Regions from separate parts of the Homo sapiens genome. Here all the other regions are linked to region 1. Evidence: promoter capture Hi-C in 16 types of primary human blood cells and fetal thymus (Javierre and others, 2016). All regions are on one chromosome and are shown on one strand. The core of a region is centred on a gene start or on the middle of the fragment in contact, and the rest is flanking DNA. Distances in the headings are between cores, read along the strand shown. Region 1 holds the start of TP53INP1 (tumor protein p53 inducible nuclear protein 1). Region 2 holds the start of VIRMA (vir like m6A methyltransferase associated). Region 3 overlaps CFAP418-AS1 (CFAP418 antisense RNA 1).

What was found. Contacts are between HindIII fragments. The CHiCAGO score rates a contact against its expected background, and 5 or more counts as called.
Region 2: a contact is called between the fragment with the promoter of VIRMA here and the fragment with the promoter of TP53INP1 in region 1, in 2 of 17 cell types (naive CD4 T cells and total CD8 T cells). The highest score is 5.6, in naive CD4 T cells.
Region 3: a contact is called between a fragment that was not itself captured here and the fragment with the promoter of TP53INP1 in region 1, in 1 of 17 cell types (naive B cells). The highest score is 5.3, in naive B cells.

What each region holds. Positions count from the first base shown.
Region 1 is chr8:94,947,844-94,951,419 of GRCh38, reverse strand. It overlaps TP53INP1 (tumor protein p53 inducible nuclear protein 1), which reads left to right and starts at 2,042. Exons shown (of 4, transcript NM_033285.4): 1 at 2,042-2,266. It also overlaps a transcript of NDUFAF6 not described here. RefSeq lists enhancers at 1,187-1,236, 1,407-1,576, 1,443-2,072, 2,073-2,701 and silencers at 1,697-1,806, 1,887-2,266, 2,487-2,626. The HindIII fragment of the contact is 4,012 bases long and covers 1-3,509 here.
Region 2 is chr8:94,551,893-94,555,468 of GRCh38, reverse strand. VIRMA (vir like m6A methyltransferase associated) reads left to right here and starts at 2,000. Exons shown (of 24, transcript NM_015496.5): 1 at 2,000-2,084. The coding sequence starts at 2,022. It overlaps VIRMA-DT (VIRMA divergent transcript), which reads right to left and starts at 1,756. Exons shown (of 2, transcript NR_183271.1): 1 at 1,562-1,756. RefSeq lists an enhancer at 1,687-2,306. The HindIII fragment of the contact is 4,366 bases long and covers 1-2,934 here.
Region 3 is chr8:95,309,647-95,313,222 of GRCh38, reverse strand. The region is part of intron 1 of CFAP418-AS1 (CFAP418 antisense RNA 1); the gene reads right to left. Among named protein-coding and RNA genes, the nearest start is that of TRS-AGA2-5, 42 kb to the right of the region's middle. The HindIII fragment of the contact is 5,785 bases long and covers 1-3,576 here.

The DNA of each region.
Region 1 (3,576 bases), core at 793-3,292:
TTAAAAACTACCCCAACATTTAGTGCCTTAAAACAATGATCATTTATTTGTTCACAATGCCGTCATTTTGGCAGTGCTCCGTGGGGATGGCTTATCTCTCCTCTGTTCAGTATGGTGTCTGCTGGAGCTGGAACTTCCTAAGGGCTTTTCCACTCATGTGTCTGGTAGCTCAGCTGGGATGAGCTGAAGAGCTAGAGCTGGCCAGGCATCTCTTTCTTTTCACATAGCCTCTCCCTGTGGCTAGCAGGGTGGTCTCTCCTCATGGGTGGCTGGCATTTTCCAGAGTACAAAGCAGAAGCTGTGGGGTTTGCTTAATGCTTTTGCTTAATGACGAGGCTTGGAAGTCCTAGAACATTCTTTCTGCCACATTCTATTGGTCAGAGCAATCACAGGGTCAGCCCAGATTCAAAGGGAAGAAAAATACACCCACTTCATGATGGAGATACTGTTGTGGTCATCTTTGGAAAAATGATCTACTTCATATTGAATTTTTCTATCATAACAAGATGATGATTTCACATGTTGCTTTAACCATGATAAACCTTATCAAACTGGAAAAAGGTAGGCCTTTTTCTTTTTAAAAATTAGCCCCTTGTAATTGTCATCATACCTTGGTTCTGAATGTGGAGATGGCCTCTTCAATGGATTCCTAGGGAGAAACAAGAGATCATGGGGCTCCTACCATAGCATGTGGGAGAAAATATTAGAACAAGCCTGATTTGCAAAAACCTAAAATCCAAAGCATGTTCAAGTCTGTGAGACTATCTAGAACACAGTTTTAGCTCTTTCTCCCAAGATAAGGTCCAATGACCATCATATTTTGATCATTACTCCTTGGTGTCTGACAACTCCCTGCACTGCAATTTACATCCTTTAAAACCAGCATTGTTGGAAATGGACTGACTACATTGTGAGGGTCAGAATGTGAGTGTCTTTCAGATACTGTAATGTGTGATAGGCATCCCTCCAGGGTTGCTATACAGCTCACCCCAGGTCAAAGAACTACATCCCAGTCCAAACAGTATCCACATGAGAGCTGATAGGCATCAACGTTACTCACCTGCCTTTGCCAGACAGTTAATCCACCTATATGTGGGACAGAGCCTTGGTCTGGAAAACACTTTCAAGCCCACTGTCTCACTCTCTTGTCACTATAAATAACCTGGTGAGTTGGCAGTCCCGGCGTGAATGCCCACAATTTGCAGGTATGCAAACAGAACAGAGGGGCTAAGTTCCGTGGGTCACATGAGAGCTAGGCTGCAGCGCCTGGGGAGGCGGCCGTTCCCGCCCGGTGCGCTTGTTGTCCGCTGGAGCAGAGGCCCCCGAGCCTGCTGACCTCTCTGCCTTCAGGCCTGGTCTCGCAGTCCCTTGTGCCTCGCCTATAGGCAGGCGGAATCCAGAGCGTGCAGCAAGCCCGGCCGGCTCTCGGTGGCGGTTTCTACAGCAGGTGGGGCCTGGCTCCGTGATTGAGCGGCCTCTACCCCTCTATCTGGGGCCCAGCAGCGGCCCCCTCCCAGCACCCTGGCTACACGTCTAACCCTAGGCTGACCAGGTGGGGCTCTCGGAGGCGTTAGCCCCAGCCCTCCCAGGAGTCTTAATGTTCCTCTCACAGGAAAAAACGTTCTGCGCCCTTTGTGCCCCAAACCCTCGACCCTTCACTCGGCGAGAGGGGTCGCTGAGGGAGAGATCCACCTCTGCCCTTCCCGTTGCCCGCCGGTTCTTCCTCGCCCGCCTCTTACGCACCCCGCTCCCGCCGGCTCCTGGAAAGCCGGCCCCGGCCCCAGCGCTTCCCTCCCCGGCCTAGCCCCTCTCTCCCACCCTTCCGCTCGCCCAGGCCTTCACGCTCAGCTCCCGGTTTTTGTTGCCCGGGCTTGTTTCGGAGCTGAGCGCGCCGCCGGCCGGGCGCCAGGTCACGTGCGTTGGTGACAACCTCTCGCAGGGCGGCCCCGGGGCCCCCGCACCGCCGATTGGTGGGGCCCGGCCTGGCGCGGCCCGGGGCGGGGCAGCGGGGCCCGACGGCGAGCGGAGCGGCCGATCAGCTGTTGCGAGCGCTGCACAACAACAAAAGGACTTGGACTGGCCGGCCTGGGCGCAGCGACCCGAGGGCTGGAGCCGGCCCCGCGCCTGCCGTCTGGGTACCTGAACGAGGTGCAGCGCAGCCCGGCCCCACCGCAGCTACCTCAGCAGTCCCGCCCCGCCCGCGTCCTTCCCCGCCGAGCCGGCGGCCGCTCCCTTCCCCGCGCAGCCCCGCACGGCCCGGGCCCACGTAAGTGCCGGGGGGGGGCGGGCGGGCGTCCGTCCAGGGCCGCCTCGCTGCCGGTTGGGGCCGCAGCGCTGCCCGCTCCTGAGCCCGGCGGGGCCGGCCGCGCGCCCTGCCTTCGGGGCGCCGGTTGCGCGTTCACCGAGCCCCCTCGCTGCCTCCCCTCGCCGCCGCCGGGCCCGGCCGCCCACCCAGTGGGTCGGTCCTCGGCGGCCCCCGGGGCCCAGGGCGCGGACAGAGGCTGACAGAGGCGGCGGCGGCGCGGACAAGGGCCCGGCCTGGCCCCGGCGCTGGGCGGCGGTTGGGAGTTTGGTCTCTGCCTCCTCCCCCGAGCGTGGCTTGTTTTCTTGGCCGCGGCGGGACCTCCTCCTCTCACCCCTCCTCACTCCCCTCCACTCCTCCTCCTCCGCCTGCTCTCGGCCGTTGGATGGGGCCGCCCCTTCGGGACTCGGCGTCGGGGCTCCCGCGGCCACCCCCGGGACGCATCTCCGAAGACAGCGGCGCTTGGGCTTGTGGCCCGGCGCTCTGTCCCCGCCCTGCGATCCCGTCCCCTGCGCCTGCCCTCCGAGTTCCGGAGGCCCTGCGGCTATGGGGAACCTGCTCCGTGACCCGGCCACCGGCCCCCGCCTGTCCGCGGCCTGTCCCTTGCTTGACCTGGCTTGAACTCAGTCTTCGCTACCTGACTTTGCACCTGTGGAAAGAGCGCTCTCCTTGGCCCTTAACATTTAGATCCTTTGGATCGCTCACGCTTACTGAGCGCTGAGTATGTGCCATATACTATGCTGGGGGCTTTGCTTTATCGCCCCAGTTGATTCTCATAATAACCTTATATGAAATAGGCCCGGCTATCTTACACATAGGAAACCCGAGGCACAGAGAGATTAAGTTGCTCAAGGCCACACAGCCAATTAATAAAAGGAAATGGTGTTTGTATTTCAAAGTGGCAGCTGAATTTTACCTGGAGAGTCTGTTTTGCTTGTATTTTCTGATTATATCTGCTCAGTAGGTTAATTCCAATACAGAGTGGATTAAGGAAGAGCCTCTTTACAACTGTGACTCCCAAGGACTTGGGCATCTATTGCTAAAAAAGCCTTTTCTCAATGCACAATAGTTTTGGGAAAAGGGGGAACAATGTGACCCTTGGGGTCACTGAACAGAAGTCATAATGAGTTCCCCCACGATACTGAAATCACCAGCCTGGTAATTGAAATACATTTTCATTTGCAGATGTGAAAAGCACTGGGAAGCTTTTAAGTCGCAATCAGTGTAATTCTGAACTGGCAGCATAATTTTAAAAGGCCCCTGCCTGGAACCAG
Region 2 (3,576 bases), core at 751-3,250, 400 kb after region 1:
ATCAATGCTAAGAAAATCAGACTGTAAAAATGACAACTATAAAAGCACTATATAGTACATTGGTTAAGGGAGAGCTTAGGGGAAAATTTATATAAATACATATAGTAATAAATAAGAAATATGAATAAAAATAAACATCAGTGGTAGAAATTAGAGAACAGCATATAAGCCTAAACACAGAAGAAGGGGGGGGGCACGGTGGCTCACGCCTATAATCACAGCACTTTGGGAGGCTGAGGCAGGAGGATTGCTTGAAGCCAAGAGTTTGAGACCAGGCTGGGCAACGAAGCAAGACCCTGTTTCTAAAAAAAAAAAGAGGCAAGAATCAGAAAACAGAAAAATATTAAAAGCAATAAATATCAATGCAAGAACAAATAATAAAAGATAAACTATAGCTAGCTAATAGAGGAAACTGGATGGCTGAGGAAGGATGTGGAGAGGAGATTTACTTTAGAAATTCATTTATTATTAAATATTTCAGACATACCAGAAGGTACAAACAATAATATAAGGCATGCTTGTGAAATTAACATTAACCTAAATAACAAAACATTACCAAGGCATGTGAAGCCTTTCTGTTCTTCTCCATTACATCTCCTTCCAGTTTACCACTATCTTGAAATTTTAGTTACTCCAATACATGACTTTATAATTTCATGACATATGTACACTCCTAAAATTTTATATTCTTTTGCACGTTTTTAAATATATAGATGTTATTTTACACTATATATTTTTTATTTCCTTTTCTAAGAGATGGGTGTCCCCACTGGCCTCCAACTCCTGGGCTTAAGAGATTCTCCTGTCTCAGCTTCCCGAGAAGTTGGGACCACAGGAACACGCCACCGCACCCGGCTTGCGATGAGAGGAGTTAAACTTGTTTTGTTTTGGTTTGTGTCTTTTTTTTTTCTTTTTGTGAATAACGGGGTCTCGCTATATTGCCCAGGCAGTTCTCCAACTCCTGGGCTCAAGCGATCCTCCCGCTTCATCCTCCCTAAGTGCTGGATTACAGGCGTGAGCCAAAGCGCCCACCAACCCTGTTTTTTGGGTTTTTCATGCTAGTAAACATAGCACTGGTTCATTCTTCGTACCTGCTATATACTATTATATAAATACGCCACTATTTACTTATTACTTCTGTCAATGGCACTTATGTTTCCTGCTCTTTTGCAACTTATAAAGTTTGCTATGAATATTCTTGTATTTGTAGATACGTGGGCGAGAATTTTCCTAGAAGAGTGGTAGGCACGTGTAATTTTACAAGCTATTTCCTAGTTGCTCTGCTAAGGGTTTGTGCCATTTAGACTACCAAACCCGCTGAGTTTATCTCGTTGCTCCAAAGCTCATCAACACCCGACAGAGAGGCTTACTTTTCATTCTGCCTCCTGTTTTATTGTTCATGGTACTTCACGTTACACAATTCCTCGAATTTTATTTCAATTACTCCTCACAATCACCCTGTAGGTTAGGTACGATTTTTCACATTTTACAGATAAGAAAACAAAGAATCTCTTCGTTGGTTGAAACAACAGTTTTTCTTCTATTTAAATCAATGTCTTACTTTTCAACCTCGCTCACTGTTATCTTTTTGCTCCCAGCGCTGGAAAAAGTGGGACATCCCCTTCGGTGGGTGTACGGGGTTGGTATCCAAAGTTGGCAGCTTTCCCTCCCCCTCCTCCATCCACCGTCTCCAAAACCCCGTCTCCGCACTTCGCCACCCGGAGACCGCTGTAGCTCTGTAACGCGGAGGAACGACAGGGTTTGAACCACTGGAGACCCCGTAGTCCCCATCTCACTTCCCTCTGCCCCCCCTCTGCGTTCTAGGGGGCGCCCTCCGCCGCGCTGGAAAAGGCGGGGCCGGCAACTCCGGGCAACAAGATGCGTTGGGATAGGCCGAGGTTTGCGGCGCTAGTGCTCTGGTCACCGGAAGTCCCTCTGTTTCTCCCTCTCCTGAGTCGCTGTCGCGGAGGCTGGAGCGCTGCCCCGGAAGTCCTCCCCCCTGTTCCCCGCCCGCGGCAAACATGGCGGTGGACTCGGCGATGGAGCTGTTATTTTTAGATACTTTTAAACACCCGAGCGCTGAGGTAAGGCTTGGCGACTTGATTCTGACGCTGCTTCTTGACTTGGGATCTTTACAAAAAAACCGTTAGGCGTTCTCCACTTTTCCTTCTGCAGATTGCTTCTTTAATTTCTCGCTTACACACAGACACCCTCCCCCGAGCTGTGTGAGCATCGCGTCTGAGGGAGGGCTGCAGCAGCCCCTTCATTTCCTTGCTTTAACTTGGGCCCTCCGTGTCTTTGGTCGAGTTGGCTTTTCTGCTTGCATGGCTTTATTTTTTATTTTTCCTGTCAGGTTTGGGCCTTGAGAAGGATCAGGGTTCTCAGGTTTACCTCAGATGGCGTTTGGGAGGGGTCTTGGTTTGCCAGTAGTGTTTGACAGTAGTGCCGGAGTCTGAGCAGTTTACGTTGGCTTCGTGGTTTCCGAATCACGATGTTTCTAAATCCTTTCTCTTTGGCCTCTTTTCTGTCGGGAATTATGTTCCCCAGTTGTGACACTTACTTGGTTTAGGATTACGGTGCTCTCCGATTTGGCCTGAAACTTTAATACTTGTCTCTCGGAGAGATTTCACACATTAGGAATGAGATGCATTCACGGAGAATACTTGCGAAGAGGGGAGAGTTGAGAGAATTATAGTTAAACTCATCAGCAGACATCTCCTTTGAGGTTGGAGGTGGAATGTTGTGGAGTAATATTTCTGTACAAAACTACTTGAGCGCCCCTTAATGTACAATTGGCCCTGCAATATGTAGATTAAACATAGCTGGTTAACTAAAGATTCCTGAAAGCAGACCAAAAATGAACTTGAATGAAGTCTACGGAGAAATTGTTAAAAAAAAAAACGAACTTCACATTTTTCTGTCTTAATGTAAGCTTAATTTAGAGAACTGTTCTTTCTTTGGAGATTATTTTTTTCCTTTTATTTTTATCAAGTGTGCTCTTGTATCAAGCTTTTTGAGGACAGATATAATTTCTCTTTTTCTCAGCTGTATCTCCAGTGCCTAGGACAGTATTAGCAAAATGTAGGTGCTCAATAAATATTTGAATGGAAAATGTTTAAAATGTTCTTTCTTTTATGAGATAGTAATGATAGTGGGTAGTGATTGTATCATAATGCTTTACTTGGCAAAATAAAAAGTTGACAGCTGTGATCTAATTTAACGAATGGTTTATAGGTTTGTAAAAGTCAAAAGTTGGAGAACTTTGAGTTAGCATTTCTTACTGACAGTTAATTTATGGTCTGACATTTAATGTGGGTCAGTTAGCACTGTTTGTTCAATGACTATATCTAACATTCTAGCCGAGATTTAGAAAACCCTCAATGGAGGCAGTAGTTGGATCAGAACAAACTTATGGTGTATAGAAATAGAGAACAGTTAAAACTGAAAGAGCCTGGCGCAGTGGCTCATGCCTGTAATCTCAACGTTTTGGGAGGCGGAAGCAGAAGGATTGCTTGAGTCCAGGAGTTTGAGACCATCCTAGGCAACACAGTGCAACCCCTGTCTCTACAAAAGAAA
Region 3 (3,576 bases), core at 383-2,882, 360 kb before region 1:
TACCCTTAATGCCAATGATCCTGAGATCTGTCTTTGGCTTTTCTCTTATTCTTCCACATATTCTGACAATTTCATCCATACCTGCAGCTTCAAATACTAATTGCACAGAGCCTTATCTTTCTCTTTAATGGAGATACCTTCCCCAAATTCTGGATTCATTTATCAACCTTTATCAACCACCTACTAGATAACATGTTCTCAAAGGCCTTGACTGCCCAGGTTCAAAACTGAACTCGGAATATCCCCATCCACAACCTTGCTTTTGCCCTGGTTCCATGAATGATGCTGCAATCTACCCAGGCATCTGGAAGTCATCAGACCTCCCTTACATCACTGGTCATTAGGTCCTATCATTCTGCCTTCAACATGTCTCACAAGTCCTACCCCACCTTTTCATCCCCACTGTAACATCTCAGGATAAAGCCTCAGCATCCATCTCTCCTGATCACCCTGCCTTCCCATTCCGAACACACCAGAGTAGTCTTTCTAACATTTAATCATGACCCCCTCCCCACCAGCTCAATATCCTTCATATGTCAAACGCTGATGGGATAAAATTCGAACTCCTTTACAAGGCAAATTAGATCTCTGTACCTGCCCCCACCGGAGCTTGTATTGCCCTGAACTGTGCTGTAGCTGCTTGACTGTGTCTATCTCATCATCATATGCCCACTGCTTAGCACGATGCCTGAACATAGGGGCTCAAGAAACTACTAATAAATGAATTAGCAAATACCTAAAATACCTAAAGTTTCCTCACAAAATTTCTCCCTTTATACAATATTTCATTTTTGATAAAATGATATCAGTAAAGATATATTCAATTTTATTTTATCTTAGAGTTTTAAATCAGCTAGTGAGCATCAAATTCAGTGGTTCCGAATCTTGGGTGCACATTAGAATCAGCCGCAGAGATTTTAAGCTGGCTTCCATCCAGACCAATGGAATCAAAATTCAGCCTTTGTATTCACTGTGGCCATTTGAGTGATTTCATTGGAAAAAGAAAATAGAGATAACATTAAAGAGATTCACATCATGCTTGATGCAGAAGATTTTATACATGGTATCTTATTTACTCTTTAAAAGAACCCATGAAGCAAGATTCTCTATTTATTGGGCACTTGAAACACAGAGAGATTAATTTACTTGAATGGGGTCACCCAAGTCGTATGTGGTGGGTCTAGAATTCTAATCCAAAGCTACTTCCAAAGAACATGTACTTCCTTCTGCCTGATAAGCCTCCATGTAGGCAGTGCAAAACGTGTCAGAGGAGGGAGACAGGGAAAGAAGAACAGCATTTGCAGACACTAGATTTGAATGTGGGAACGACCCACAGTTTCAACACCACACAGTCGCCTTGAGTCCAGTGTGGTAAGAGTGAACCATCCATGGGCATACTGGCTTGAAGTTTTACATAAACGTTACCATTTGGCAAACACCTAAGCAATCATTGTTCCAGGCAAGAACTATAGATGCTAAAATGAGAGAATGAATGGGAAAAGGGAGACTTATATAGTCTCAAAGTATCCACCACGGGATATTCTTTTAAAGAGAAAGTAGTAACTTTATAGTGGAGAAGTCTGGCAGACCCCGCCTTAACTGACTGAGCAAAGTTTCATTTGAGTAATAAGACAAATTGAGATTATGCACCTCCTGACATAACATGCTGAGAAAGCCACAGCATCTCGTCCATGGCCCGCTTGCCAAAGATGCACAACTTTAAGTATGAAGAAACATCAGATAAACCCAAATTAGGAGAAAATCTACCAAATAATTTCAAAAAGGGTAAGAGAGACCACAGAACTGTTCCATATTAAAGAAAACTAAGAAAATATAGCTAAATGCAAATGTGTAGTCCTAAATTAGATACCGCCCAGAAAAAGGTCATTAGTAAGACAGTGTGTGAAATCTGGATAAAGTATGCAGATTAAGTAGTATTATAGTAATGTTAATTTCCTGCTTTTTATTATTATATTGTGGTTATACAATAAATCAATATTTTGGGAATTTGGATGAAGGGTATGTGGAACTTCAAACTATTTTTGCAGCCATGTTGAAAAATTTTAGACTTATAAAATTTAAAAGTTTTTAAAAATTAAAAAGTGAAAATGTGTGACAAAGTTATGAGACTGGATTTCATCCATGAATCTGAAGACAATTCTAAAAGCAGTACCAAATTATTTTGAGTGTTATGCGTGGCACTTGCCTCTCAAGATACTTTTTAATGAGACAGGGTTATTTTGCATGCATAAAATGTCACACTTGTTACATTACCAGTCTCATTTCATTAAAATTCTATACTTAAACCTCTATAGAATGTTTCTCACTATCCACTTCACCAGATGTCATTTGACACGTAAGAATCTGAGTGACTCCCACAGCTCACAAGGCCATAAACAGCAGAGACGGAACTGGAAGCAGGTGTCTGCTCCAGCTTCAGGGCTCCTTCCACACTGAGCTACACTGCCTTGCAGATCTTCTAAAGTTCACCCAAGACCCACAATTCAAGAAGTCAGAGAGACCAAAGAAGCTGAAGTCGAGGGAAAGCATGATAGACTCCATATCTATGAATTACTATACTGCAAGGTTCATAAACATCTCTCTCTCAAGTTAACGTTATAAAGTATATTCATTAAATATTTTACCTTTTGGGTTGGGGGGAAGCTAATCTGTCCTTTCTCCCGAGACCTTTAATAATAGTGATAAGAATAGTTAACATTTGTTGAGCAATTACTATTGCCAGTTATTGTTCCAAGTTCTTTTTTTTTTTTTTTTTTTTTGAGATGGAGTTGCGCTCTGTCGCCCAGGCTGGAGTGCAGTGGCGCGATCTCGGCTCACTGCAAGCTCCACCTCCTGGGTTCACGCCATTCTCCTGCCTCAGTCTCCCGAGCAGCTGGGACTACAGGCACCCATCACCATGCCCAGCTAATTTTTTGCAATTTTTTTTTTTTTTTTTTTTTTTTAGTAGAGACAGGGTTTCACCATAGCCAGGATGGTCTCGATCTCCTGACCTCGTGATCCACCCGCCTCAGCCTCCCAAAGTGCTGGGATTACAGGCGTGATTTAATCCCAGAAACAACCCTGTGTTGTAGATGTATTATTCTAGTTTTATAGATGAGGAAACTAAGTTACTGAGAGTTTGAGCAAGTTGCCTACAATCATATAGCTGAGGGATGAAAAAATTGGTCCAGGATCTTTTTTAGCATTTCCAGGATGCTTTTGCGTCTCCTACAGGCACTCTCAAAAGTTCTCTATTTGCACACATCTAGTCCACATCCCTTTCTTAACACTGCCTTCCATCACCACAGGCTCCTTTGAGATCTTTAGGGGAACTTGTTTCAAATAGTAAAATACAGATCATCATTTTGTCAAATACACTAATAGTGCTCATTCTGCCTAAAAGACCACACCTGAGAAAATGAGAGGCAAGGACAAGATAAAAGGAAGAGGGTCTGGTCCCTACCCTTAAGGTGTTTAAAATCTCCGCAAAGAACACCTTTAAAAATTAACTTGAAATTTTTCACTATCCTAAGAAAAGGCAGTGACTCTCCTCTCTGTTCATAGGGATTTGATGGG